3 separate regions of the Homo sapiens genome follow, and all the other regions are linked to region 1. Evidence: promoter capture Hi-C in 16 types of primary human blood cells and fetal thymus (Javierre and others, 2016). All regions are on one chromosome and are shown on one strand. Each heading gives the region's core, a stretch centred on a gene start or on the middle of the fragment in contact. The rest is flanking DNA. Distances are from core to core; before and after follow the strand shown.

Evidence for each region. The method cuts DNA at HindIII sites, captures the fragments that hold promoters and counts their contacts. A CHiCAGO score of 5 or more calls a contact.
Region 2: a contact is called between a fragment that was not itself captured here and the fragment with the promoter of ARHGEF9 in region 1, in 4 of 17 cell types (naive B cells, fetal thymus, naive CD4 T cells and 1 more). The highest score is 7.2, in naive B cells.
Region 3: a fragment that was not itself captured here is called in contact with the fragment with the promoter of ARHGEF9 in region 1 in 4 of 17 cell types (total B cells, total CD4 T cells, naive CD8 T cells and 1 more); the score reaches 9.4 in total B cells.

What each region holds. Positions count from the first base shown.
Region 1 is chrX:63,783,194-63,786,878 of GRCh38, reverse strand. ARHGEF9 (Cdc42 guanine nucleotide exchange factor 9) reads left to right here and starts at 1,665. Exons shown (of 10, transcript NM_001353921.2): 1 at 1,665-1,763. The coding sequence starts at 1,734. It overlaps MIR1468 (microRNA 1468), which reads left to right and starts at 792; the gene lies at 792-877. The HindIII fragment of the contact is 6,142 bases long and covers 35-3,685 here.
Region 2 is chrX:65,521,810-65,525,494 of GRCh38, reverse strand. LAS1L (LAS1 like ribosome biogenesis factor) reads left to right here. Exons shown (of 14, transcript NM_031206.7): 8 at 445-530; 9 at 881-931; 10 at 1,233-1,439; 11 at 1,788-1,935. Among named protein-coding and RNA genes, the nearest start is that of LAS1L, 11 kb to the left of the region's middle. The HindIII fragment of the contact is 4,278 bases long and covers 1-3,685 here.
Region 3 is chrX:65,501,628-65,505,312 of GRCh38, reverse strand. ZC3H12B (zinc finger CCCH-type containing 12B) reads right to left here. Exons shown (of 10, transcript NM_001010888.4): 10 at 1-3,524. The coding sequence ends at 2,104. Among named protein-coding and RNA genes, the nearest start is that of LAS1L, 31 kb to the left of the region's middle. RefSeq lists enhancers at 2,000-2,500, 2,501-3,001. The HindIII fragment of the contact is 944 bases long and covers 1,180-2,123 here.

The DNA.
Region 1 (3,685 bases), core at 416-2,915:
CAAAATCAGGGCCTGGAGGTATTCCTGGAAAGCTTTCTAAAGGTGGTGTGCCTGGTGCCAGATCTTGAACAGTCATGACAGTTTGAATGGGCTGGTTGGCAGGGGAGGTGCATCCAAGATACTGAGCATGAAAGAAGGCCCAGAGATGGGAAAGTGAGAGAACATTGTGGAATCACTGATGCCTGGGTTACCAGACTTGGGAGGGAAGTTGAAAGGTCATCCAGGGCAACCTCCCATTTGATTCAGGAATCCCTTGCCAAAGGGTCATTCAGCTTCTGCTTGTACACCTCCCATGATGGGGTGCTCATTAAGGTACTGCTTCTATCTTTGCCCAGCTCTGCATGGACAAAACAACAGGTTGGATGAAGTGCAGAAGTTGTGCTAAAAAGAAGAGGACAAATAAAGTACGTGTAACAGGCCAGTGATGTCTTCATGTCAATTATCTCCAGGAACTTCTTTCTAATATCATACTGTAACTCCTTTTACTTTGGTTGCAACCTCTGTTTTTGCAATTCTGTCTTTGCCTGACCTGCTCTTCTAGTCAGGAGCCTTGGATTCTTGTCTTGTTTGGCTGTGCTACTTTAAGCAGAAGTCTTTCAATCTCTGGGCTTCAGTGTTCAAGTCTGTAATGGTGGGCAATTAAGAATCCTTGTTGTGTCCATCTCATAGAGTTACTGTGAGGATTATAAGGGATAATAACAGATGTTAGTGTGACTGACAAAGTCAATTTTTAGCCTAAGCAAAGGTACCAGCCTGTGTTGTGTTCCCCAGAGTTGGGGGAATCATAAAGAGGTGGGTGGTTTCTCCGTTTGCCTGTTTCGCTGATGTGCATTCAACTCATTCTCAGCAAAATAAGCAAATGGAAAATTCGTCCATCAACAAGCTACCTTTCATGTTCCTAAGGGCATGAAGGAGAAGCCTGGAGTGGTGTGTGTGAGATAGAAAGGGAGAGATAGCCGAAAGAGGCTTGGAAAGCCGCAGAGGGTAAAGTCGAGGATTTATCTTTTTTTTTTCTTTAATGTGACCTTATGCCCCTTCCCTCTTCCAAACCTCCATTTATTTATCTATAACTTGGAGATACTAATGGCTGCCTCTACAGGGTTGTTCTGAGAAGTGAAAGTAATGCAGATGAAAGCTCTCAGATAGTACACAAAGAGAGAAGACCCTAGGGGAGTATGCAGAGGGAGGGTGGGGGAGGGAGGCATGAGAGTGCTGGCTTGGCTCCACTGGGGCAGGATCTTATTATTCTGGAGATTGGCACAACACCTCTGGTAACTTTGGAAAGGACTTTCCGCTGACTCGACACAATTGGGAAGCCCCACAATAAACAGCATCTAACTCCAGCGCAGCGGGAGGCAGGCAGAGGTAGCAGCTGCCTTCTCCTGGGCGGGCGGAGGCTATTCGCCCCCATCCTCTCCCTGCACCCCACCCCCACAGTTCTCAAGCCTTGGTGGGGGACAAAAGCAGCCCATTAGGACCCCCCCACACTCGCACCTCTCCCTGCCAAGACCTCTAGGAGCAGCAGGGCGGAGAGACAGAGCCTGCCGGTTGGCATGGAACAAACTGACTGAAGGCGAGGTCCGGGGCGGAGGGGATTGGGTTGTAGGGCTGTGGAGGAGGGGCGGCGGAGGGGGCGCTGGGGCTCTCGCTTGCTTCAGCCCAGCCCTTCTAGTCAGCCCGCGACAACTCGCGCCAGCTACGGGGCCTCAGAGAAGCCGGACTTCGCAAGCACCATGCAGTGGATAAGGGGCGGATCGGGAATGGTGAGTGCATGTAACCTTGGCTTCCCTTGCTTGAGCCTCTCAGTCCCCCAGCCCCACCTCCAGTTCCTCCAACGAGCCACAAGGCAGTGAGCACCCTGGCCTCTGCCCACCGCCCTAGCCGCCGTCCTTGAGACACCAGTGAGCTTGCTGTGGCCATTTTAGGAGTCCCTGCTAGCCTGCCTGCCCAGGAAACCCCCCTACCATCCCCCTCCACTTTTCTATCTCCCTCTGAGATTAAGGTGGAATAGGGGTGGGGGCCAGATTATGTGCCCAGGAACATCCCAGGGGTCACTTGGGAGGCCAGAGAGGGAAGGGGGATGGCAGAGGGCTTCTCTGGAAGCAGTGAAGCTCGCAGGAGGCTGACAAGCTGGCACGGGGTTGTGGGGGGAGGGGACGGTCACAAAGCCTGGAATTGTGGAGGGGGCCTTATGGGAGAGCTGCATGACTCCCCCCTGCCCCCAACTAGATTTTCTGCAACTCCTTTCCCTGGTCAGCCCCAGAGCATGAGGGCCAGAGAGCCACTCTCTCTCTCTCAGGAAGCTGCCTGAGGGAGCCCTAAAGCCCTTCCTTGTCCGGGCTGGGGTCACCCTGTCCACACTTGGGGCTTTGTCAAGGAGAGACAGCTGCAGAAACCCACATTCTGGAAATGGGCTTGGGCCACAGTCAGTTAACAGAGCTCTTCTCTCCCTCCCAAGGAGTGTGTGCTTGTGTGTGTGTTTAGTATAATCCTCCAACAGTTCATTTTATGCCATGGTGTTCCCTTCTCCACCTGGAGACCTTGGAATGACTTCCTTTTGCAGAGAGGAAGTGGTGGCTGCATTTTGATGCCTCTCTGACTTAGCCAGGAGCAGCTTAAGCCTGGTTAGGGCCTCTGGGGAGTGGGAGGCCCCCATGACTTTGTCCTCAGCTGGGAGGCATAAGCAAAAGGGCCTTAGAAGGCAGTTAGGTTGGGTCAGCAGGCACTGATGGCAATAGCCCACACTTCTACGCTGCCACCCATAACCCGCAGATGAAGGAAAGTAGCCTGAAGTGGTTGGGCAAAAACTGATATTTAACTCCATTTTTGCTTTCATTGTGGAGGGGAAGAGGGAATCTGGTGTGGGCTAGGACTATATTCAGAGGGGCTGTCCTCTTCCCTTCCTCAGAGTTTTGTTAGATCTCTGTTTCAGTGGTTCTTAAGGGCATCCGGTTCATATGCCTATGTGCTGGGGCTTCAAAAGACCCTTCTTCCCAGACCTCCCTACTTCCCTGAGGTCCCATTAAAGCTGCATCAAATGTTTGTAGAACCAGAAAAGATTAGAGCAGGTAAAGACCTTAGAGTCCTTGCTGTCCAGCCAGGAAAGCTGGGATCCAGAGAGTGGGAGAGACTTGCCCAGGACCACAAACTCCTTGGAGGCAAAGCTGAGTCTAGCACTTGAGTCTCCTGACTGCCACAGTCCTTCCCCACTGCTCCACCAATCATTTGCTCAAATGGTGCTGAGAGGGGAAGAAAGGAACATAGTCATGATCTTGGGAAAGGACTTTCTTCAGGATGATCTAGTGCCATTAAATTTACCTGAAAGCCGGGCGCGGCCGCCCACGCCTGTAATCCCAGCACTTTGGGAGGCCGAGGCGGGTGGATCATCTGAGGTCGGGAGCTCAAGAACAGCCTGACCAACGTGGAGAAACCCCGTCTCTACTAAAAAGACAAAATTAGCTGGACGTAGTGGCACATGCCTGAGGCTGAGGCAGGAGAATCACTCGAACCCAGGAGGGGGAGGTTGCGGTGAGCCGAGATTGTGCCGTTGCAGTCCAGCCTGAGCAACAAGAGCGAAACTCCATCTCAAAAAAAAAAAAAAAAAATTACCCGAAAAAAATCCATGCCAGTCCTGGCATTTCTGGCAACTGGGAACTGGGTCAGGGTGAGACTTACTTCCTCTCCC
Region 2 (3,685 bases), core at 695-3,194, 1.7 Mb before region 1:
AGCCAGGGAGAAGAGAAGGGGTAGGGTACTGAAGAATGGTCAAGATAAACAGACTGCAAGAACTGAGTCTAAAAGCCCTTGACCCCATGATCCCAGGCATTTATTTCCTTCTGTGGATGTGGAACTTTTTCCTGTCTGTGTGTTGAAGTGTATTCAGACACTACTGCTCTCGTTATGGGCCATAGATCAGCATTAGTGCTTGGTAAGCACTTGTTCAAAACCCACTGATCCCAGCCTCTAACCAGCCCCTGCCTGAGGAGGCTGAAGCCTAAGATCCAATTGTCAACTCCCTTCCTCCCCACTCCTACCCACCCACCACCCCTCCTCCCTATGCTGCTTCAGCCACTTGAGCCAGAGGCATTAGCTGCTTTGGAGGTGGGTGGAGGAGTAGGAGAGGGTCTTCTGCCAGCATCACTTTGCTAAACTAGTGTCCTCTTGTTCCAGGGAGGCTGTGCTGGATGCTTTTCTGGATGATGGCTTCCTTGTCCCCACATTTGAACAGTTGGCAGCTTTGCAGATAGAATATGAAGGTAGGGTTCTGGGGGCTCACTGCACCCTTAGGGTTCTGATTCCTGGGTGGAAACAGCTGGGGTGGGCTGGGGGGCCCTGGGTTGGGGTGTGAAGGCTGTTTCCTGCCATTCCATGGCCTCTGAAAGTCCCTCAGCCTTCCTGGCTGAGCAGAACAGGTAGCCCCACTGACAGTTGTGGGGCTGCCCTTAAGTGCTCTGGAATGGGGTGGGGTGGGATGGGGTGGGGTCGGGGAGTCTTAATGACATTATTGTGCCATGTTCGTTGTGATTTAGCTGCTAGCTAGAGAGCTAGAACAGCAGAATTGGAGGGGCCTTGTGAGGTCATCTAGTCCAACATCCTCATGTTACAGATGGTCAGACTGAGGTCCAGAGAGGGGAAGGTACTGACCCAAAGTCACACAGTGAGTTATTGACAAAGCTGAAGCTAGAACCAGATCTCTGTTTTGTTTATACTTTATTTTGAGTCAGTTGTTGGTTGCCAGATACTAACTGGTTTCTCTCTCCCCACTGTTCTGCTCTCCTCTTTCCTTTGTTCTGCGGTGGCAACTCTGTTGTTGGTGGGGGGCTTGGCTCATGCGCGCGCACACATTCTCTTGCTCTCACTCTCACTTCCTTTCTCTTGCTGTCTCTTGCTCTCTCTTTCGTGCTCTCCTGCTCTCTCTCTCCTATTGCCCCCCCAAATGGGTGTCCCTTACAAACCAGAAAACGTGGACTTGAATGACGTCCTGGTGCCAAAGCCGTTCTCTCAGTTCTGGCAGCCCCTGCTCAGGGGCCTGCACTCCCAGAACTTCACGCAGGCCCTATTGGAGAGGATGCTCTCTGAACTGCCAGCCTTGGGGATCAGCGGGATCCGGCCTACCTACATCCTCAGATGGACCGTTGAACTGATCGTGGCCAACACCAAGACTGGTGAGGGAGACTAGCCCTAGCCCTAGGGCCTAAGGCAGCCCAGGCAGGAGCCTCTGCCACTGTCCTCAGCTCTCTGCTAAGAAGCACCAGGCAAACACCTCCCGTGTTAAAGGTTTAGGTTTGCCCAAGAGGGCCCCACGGCAGCAGTGGACAAATCTCCCTTTTCCTTTTCTTCTCAGAGCCAACTAAACTGGGCTGGGGCAAAGTGCCCTGAATTCTTTGAGCAGTTGGGAGGTATAGGTGGGGAGTCTGGGGGGATGGGGAGGGACAGAGCCAAACTTTCTGAGGTGAAATGTTGGGTGGGGGGCTCACTGCTTCCTTCTCCTTAGATCCTCTCTTCTCTCTCAGGACGGAATGCTCGCCGATTTTCTGCAGGCCAGTGGGAAGCAAGAAGGGGCTGGAGGCTGTTCAACTGCTCCGCCTCCCTTGACTGGCCCCGGATGGTTGAGTCCTGCTTGGGCTCACCTTGCTGGGCCAGCCCCCAACTCCTTCGGATGTAAGTCTCTTGAATTCCATCCGGTAAGAGGGTGAGGCCCTTCAAGCCTCAGGGCCACACTGCCCTAGAATGACTGAGTTAGAAGGGCCCTTTGGGGACAGTCTAGCCCAGTCTCACTCCCACTGACAGATGGGACAACTGAGTCCAGAGAGGGGAGGGGTAGGGTTTTCTTACCTAAGATCATACAGCTTAAGACCTGACTGAACTGAGTCCAGTGTGGGAATGGATAAGACAATCCCCCTAGAGTGCTTAGCACAGTGGCCTGCACAGAGTAAGTGCACAATAAATGGTAGCTGCTGTTTATTATTGAACCCAGGTCTTCTGACTCCAAGCCCAGTGCTGTTTCCTCTATTATCTTTCCAAAGTATACCTCTGATAGTTGCTTAGCAACCTTCAGTTGCTCCCTATTGCCTTCCTGTTAAGTCTAGGCTTCTTAGCCTGACATTCAAAGATCTTTCTGATTCTGGCCCAACTTACCATGGTAGCCATACCTCCTGTGAGTCTCCTTTACCCTATCCACCCTGGGTTCTATGGTCAAACTGAATATTGCACTGGTAAATACCTGTGGTTGTCTCCCTTTCCTTTTCTCTGTCATTTCCTGACCCTGAGCCACTTCCCTCATAATCATGGAAGCCTTTAGCGCCTGATTCCCTTCTTGCTTTCTTGAGCAATATCTGTTTCATTTGGATGACTCATCTGACACTCTACAGCTCCTCAACTCCAGTGACTTTCATTCTCCACTACACTCAGCAACCCATTTCCATCATTCGGAGCTATTCCACCTCTGAAAGCTCACATCCCAGCATCCCACTCGGTGACCACCACTTCTCGTCCTTCTAGTTCTCACCCTTGCATCCCATGACATCTGCTCTTTGCCTGCATCCAGATCTCCATCCCTCCATTTCCTGCATCCCTTGACCTTGCTTCCTCTCTATCCTGTCTGTGGTTGCTCAGTTCGGCCACTCATCATCAGCACCTTCAGCTTTGCCCATCCTTTGGCCATATCTGACTTGCAAACCCCTGAGCTGGAATTGATCCTCCCCATTCTGCTTCCCCTGCTCCTCAGCCCGGGTAGCTGAGCTCTGCTGGAGAAAACCACATAGCCCTGCGGATTGCTGCCACTGCAGAGGTATGATTTTTAATCTCGGGCGAGGCCTCAGTTCTGCTTGTCTGAACTTTTACTTGTTTTCTGACCACTTTCTCTCCCATTTCCTCACTATTCTAAACCCTTACCGCTCACCTCAAGCCCCTCCCCCTCTCCCATTTCACCCTAGCTTCCTCGAGCACATGGAGGCATCCGGCAGGGCCCCCTCGACCTGAGGTCCAGCCCTCGTGAACTGATCTGCGGCTGCACTCAACCTTCTCGCCAGTCTCAGGATGAGGTGGCCTTGCCCCACCTCAAAGCCTGCTCCTCCACCTGTGCTCTGGAGCCACCTCTGCCAGCATCGCTGGGGCCTCACCCCAGCCTCTACCTTGCTCTGCTGGCTCTTGCTCTTCAACCTAGGAACGTGCCTGAGCTTTTCTCATCTTAAACAAAACAACAATAACAGCAACACAAGCAAAATCTCCTTTGACCCTGCATCCCTCTGTTGGGTTATCATCAGCTTATCATTCCCACCCTTCCCATCAAAACATCTCAAAAGAGTAGTCTACACTCAACACTCTCCATTTCCTCACTACCCTCTTACTCCTCAACCTGCTGCAATTTGACATTCACCCCCAGAGTTGCTTTGACCTCCTAATTACCAAA
Region 3 (3,685 bases), core at 402-2,901, 1.7 Mb before region 1:
TCACATTCAGAGTGTTTCACAGTAAGAAACATTTATAGGCAGTGTCACACCTTCTCATGAAGAAACAAAAGGCCAAGGCCCGGCCTTCTCAACTTTCATGAAAAAACGATCATAGAAGTTAGCAAGTTCCAGCTCAGGAAATAGTGAGCTGATCATGGTTCGAAATATTGAAATATACAATGGATTCAAAAAGGGAATTCATTTAGTGCAGCTTAAAAAAAACAATAAACACCTCTTCTAGAGGCATTTAGCTATGAAGTTTTCCACCCTGAGCAAGATACAAGTTGCGCAAATGGTGTCGCCCAAACCAAAAGTCCTGCCTTCTAATAACTCATTTAACAATTATTTAACAGCAAGTGCACTCTTTGCATGGATTTAAAGTGAGTAACTGAGCCAGCTATTAGTAAAGATGCAGTATCCCCTTTTGGAAACTTCCTTTTTCCACAAATAAAATCCCCTGGTTTTGTTTCCTAGAGAAATTCTGTTCCACCAATGATTGACCTTATTACCCAAAGGGTGGACAGGAAGAGAAAGTGGATACATGGCTGTGCACTGTCCTCCATTACATTTCATCCAATGATGTTGAATACTGCATAGGTCAGAAGTCCAAAGAGCATCCAATAGTCCCTCCTTGAGTGAAGCTTTTTTATTCACCATTTAATGCCACATGGGTTTGGCCATCTCTCCTGGGATAAGGGAAGTGGATTGTGGTAGTAAGTCCCCTGGTCCTTGTCAAACTCTTCTGAGCTTGTGTAGCACACACATACTATGCTTGGAACTTGAGCTTAACCATCAGTTTCTCTGCAGAAGACTGCAACCTGATCCCTAATTTGCTAAGGTGAAGAGACTTGGAAGGTAAGAACTGTTAATAAATGTTGGCAGGTAAAATGTGCAAAGGAAACAGAGTTGCTTTGCTCTGGTGCCTAAGAAAGCAATGTTCAAATATTGCCATATAATTTCTCTCTCATAACTAGTTAAAACTATGAAATGTGACTTAAAATCATCAAGTCAGATTAGTGACCTATACAGCTATAGACGAAGGACTGTGTAGAGCCTACCCTCTCATTATCACTATATAAAAGGTTATACAGAGATACACACACATCTCAAACCAAATATATATATTCATACATGCAATATAATTGCTAATAATAGCTTTAAAATATAGTTCTAGAAGCTTCAATGTGACCCTATAGTTTCATTAATATAGATTGAGTGATCAGATATCCATGCAATAAAGTATGCATTTACTTTTAAATAGCTTTAAATATTTCTATTAGAAAAAACCTAAAAGGTTAATTCAACATATGATCTGATCCTGATGCTTTTGCTCTCTAAATTGGATATATCATCCATACTTTGTAATATAGAATATGTGACTACGAAAACTCTGGTAGGCTGGGCGCAGTGGCTCACACCTGTAATCCCAGCACTTTAGGAGGCCAAGGTGGGCGGATCACTTGAGGCCAGGAGTTTGAGACCAGCCTGGCCAACACGGTGAAACCACGTCTCTACTAAAAATACAAAAATTAGCTGGGCATGGTGGTGCACGCCTGTAATCCCAGCTACCTGGGAGGCTGAGGCCATAGAATCACTTGAACCCTGGAGGTGGAGGTTGCAGTGAGCAGAGATAGTGCCACTGCACTCCAGCCTGTGTAACAGAGTGAGATTCTGTCTCAAAAAAAAAAAATAAAGAAAGAAAGAAAGAAACGAAAAGAGAAAAAGGAAAACTCTGGTAATGGAATCCTCTGGGATTTCTTACATCTAGACCTCTCCCCCTGGGTTTTGTCCTCCATTACCTGCATGGTGCAGTGCAAAGGGGCATGGGACTTGGATTTAGAGGACTTGGGTGTGTGTCTTGACTTAGTCATTTGCTAGCAGTGTGACCCTGGCTAGCCACTTAATTTCACTGACCTTCACCTTCCTTCTCTATAAAAGAGGATGTTAGTAAGACGTACCTCACAGGGTTGTTAAGCGCTTAAATGATATAAACACTCTAACTTGTAAAGCGCAACACAAATTATTAGTTACTATAATTATTGTATTAGTGTATTATTAGTATTAATATTCATATTTGTATAAAGAAATAAGTACTATGTCATATCAACGTGCAGCCCTAAGCTTAGCAACAATCAAGGCTGCCAGTTGCTGGGCATCTGCTGTGTGGGGATTCTTCTCCATCACTGCAAGGACGATGTTAGAAGGGAAAATATTGCAGAGGTTCTTGTAGGTCTGATACTGGTGTTCTGGGATCATATGCTCCCTGGAATCATTGCACATTCCAACCCAAGGATTCCTCCAAAGCTGCTCCATCTTTTCAGGCACGCTCCGTACCATGACTGGCTCATAACATGGTTGCATGAGGCTGTTACTCAAGGGATAGGAGTGGTAGCCATAGGAGTCAGTTGTACAGGGCAGCGGGTCCCAGCTGGCATGCTGTTCCCGGCACAGGGGAGGTCGTCTTTGCCTCACGGGGTTGCTCTCATAGAGGCGGGAGTCGGAAATGCTATCCATCCGAGTCATCACCAGGGCACGGCCTGGCTGGGGGGTTGCCCCAGGATGGATATTGGGAGGCATGGGGTAGTCTGCAGGACAGCTGGAACGTGTTCCAGTTGATGGGTGCTGGGCATGCAGAGCTAAGTGGGGGACTGACTGTTTGTGGGGGCCTTGCTTAGAATCCTCTGGGCCATAGCTCTGCACTCGTGTTAAGGCTTCATGGTAACCATGAGGAAAAGGCTGAAGTCGGTTCTGGGATGCTGAGCGGTGCAGCTTCAAATTGCCTTCAGGATGGGTATCAGCTACAGCCAAATACACGTTGTTGTAAGAGGAATAGTTGTCATTCCTGGTATGGCTCACACGGCTGTCAGAACAGAGGTTAGGATTCCGGGCATACACCCCCCGGTCTACTTCAGCCATGTAATACTCTCGGTTATGCATGCTGTTGATGTTCAGTTTGGAGAAGTCACCTAACATTGAATAGTAGCCATGGTCCCCCATGGATTCAAACTTTGGGTATTGCTCAGCATAGCTAATAGGGGTCCCATGGCTGTTGGTAACCAAGATGGGAGGATACTGCATGCTGGCCATATGCTCCAAAGAGGCCTTCTGGTGGGGGAAATGGGAGGATCCTGGCACTGGGCTGCTGGCCGAACGGGTGTTGAGTGCACCCACTGCATGGCTTTTGGGGGGTGGGATTGTGGGAACACTTAGGGCAGTCACAAGCGAGGGGACAGAACTAGCCTCAGGCTTACGGGCAATGGACAGCCATTCCTCAGGCTCCATAGCCACAGACCGGATGCTGGGATCTGATTGGCGCTTGGGGGCCACACGTTTGACCTCTGAGGTTATCTCACCTTTGGCACTAGACATCCCTGTGCCACACTTGGCCAGGGTGCCTTCACTCATAGTTTTCACTGTGGACAGTTTGGCACTGATGCGGAGCTCATCAGCCACCGAACGCTGGGGTTGGTTGGCCCGCTCCGGATGGTAGTATTTGCACTTGTGGCCGTAGGTGCATTTTTTGCCTGAAAAATAATGCCTTGGGGTAAGACTCTCTCTCAGTGATGGAACCCTCTGTGCCAAAAACTGTTGTAACAATCTGGTCACTCAGGTTAGGGTTTTACTGTTTGGGGTAAAGGCAGAAAATTAACTGTCCACAAAGATGAGAGACAGACAACACCAAGGA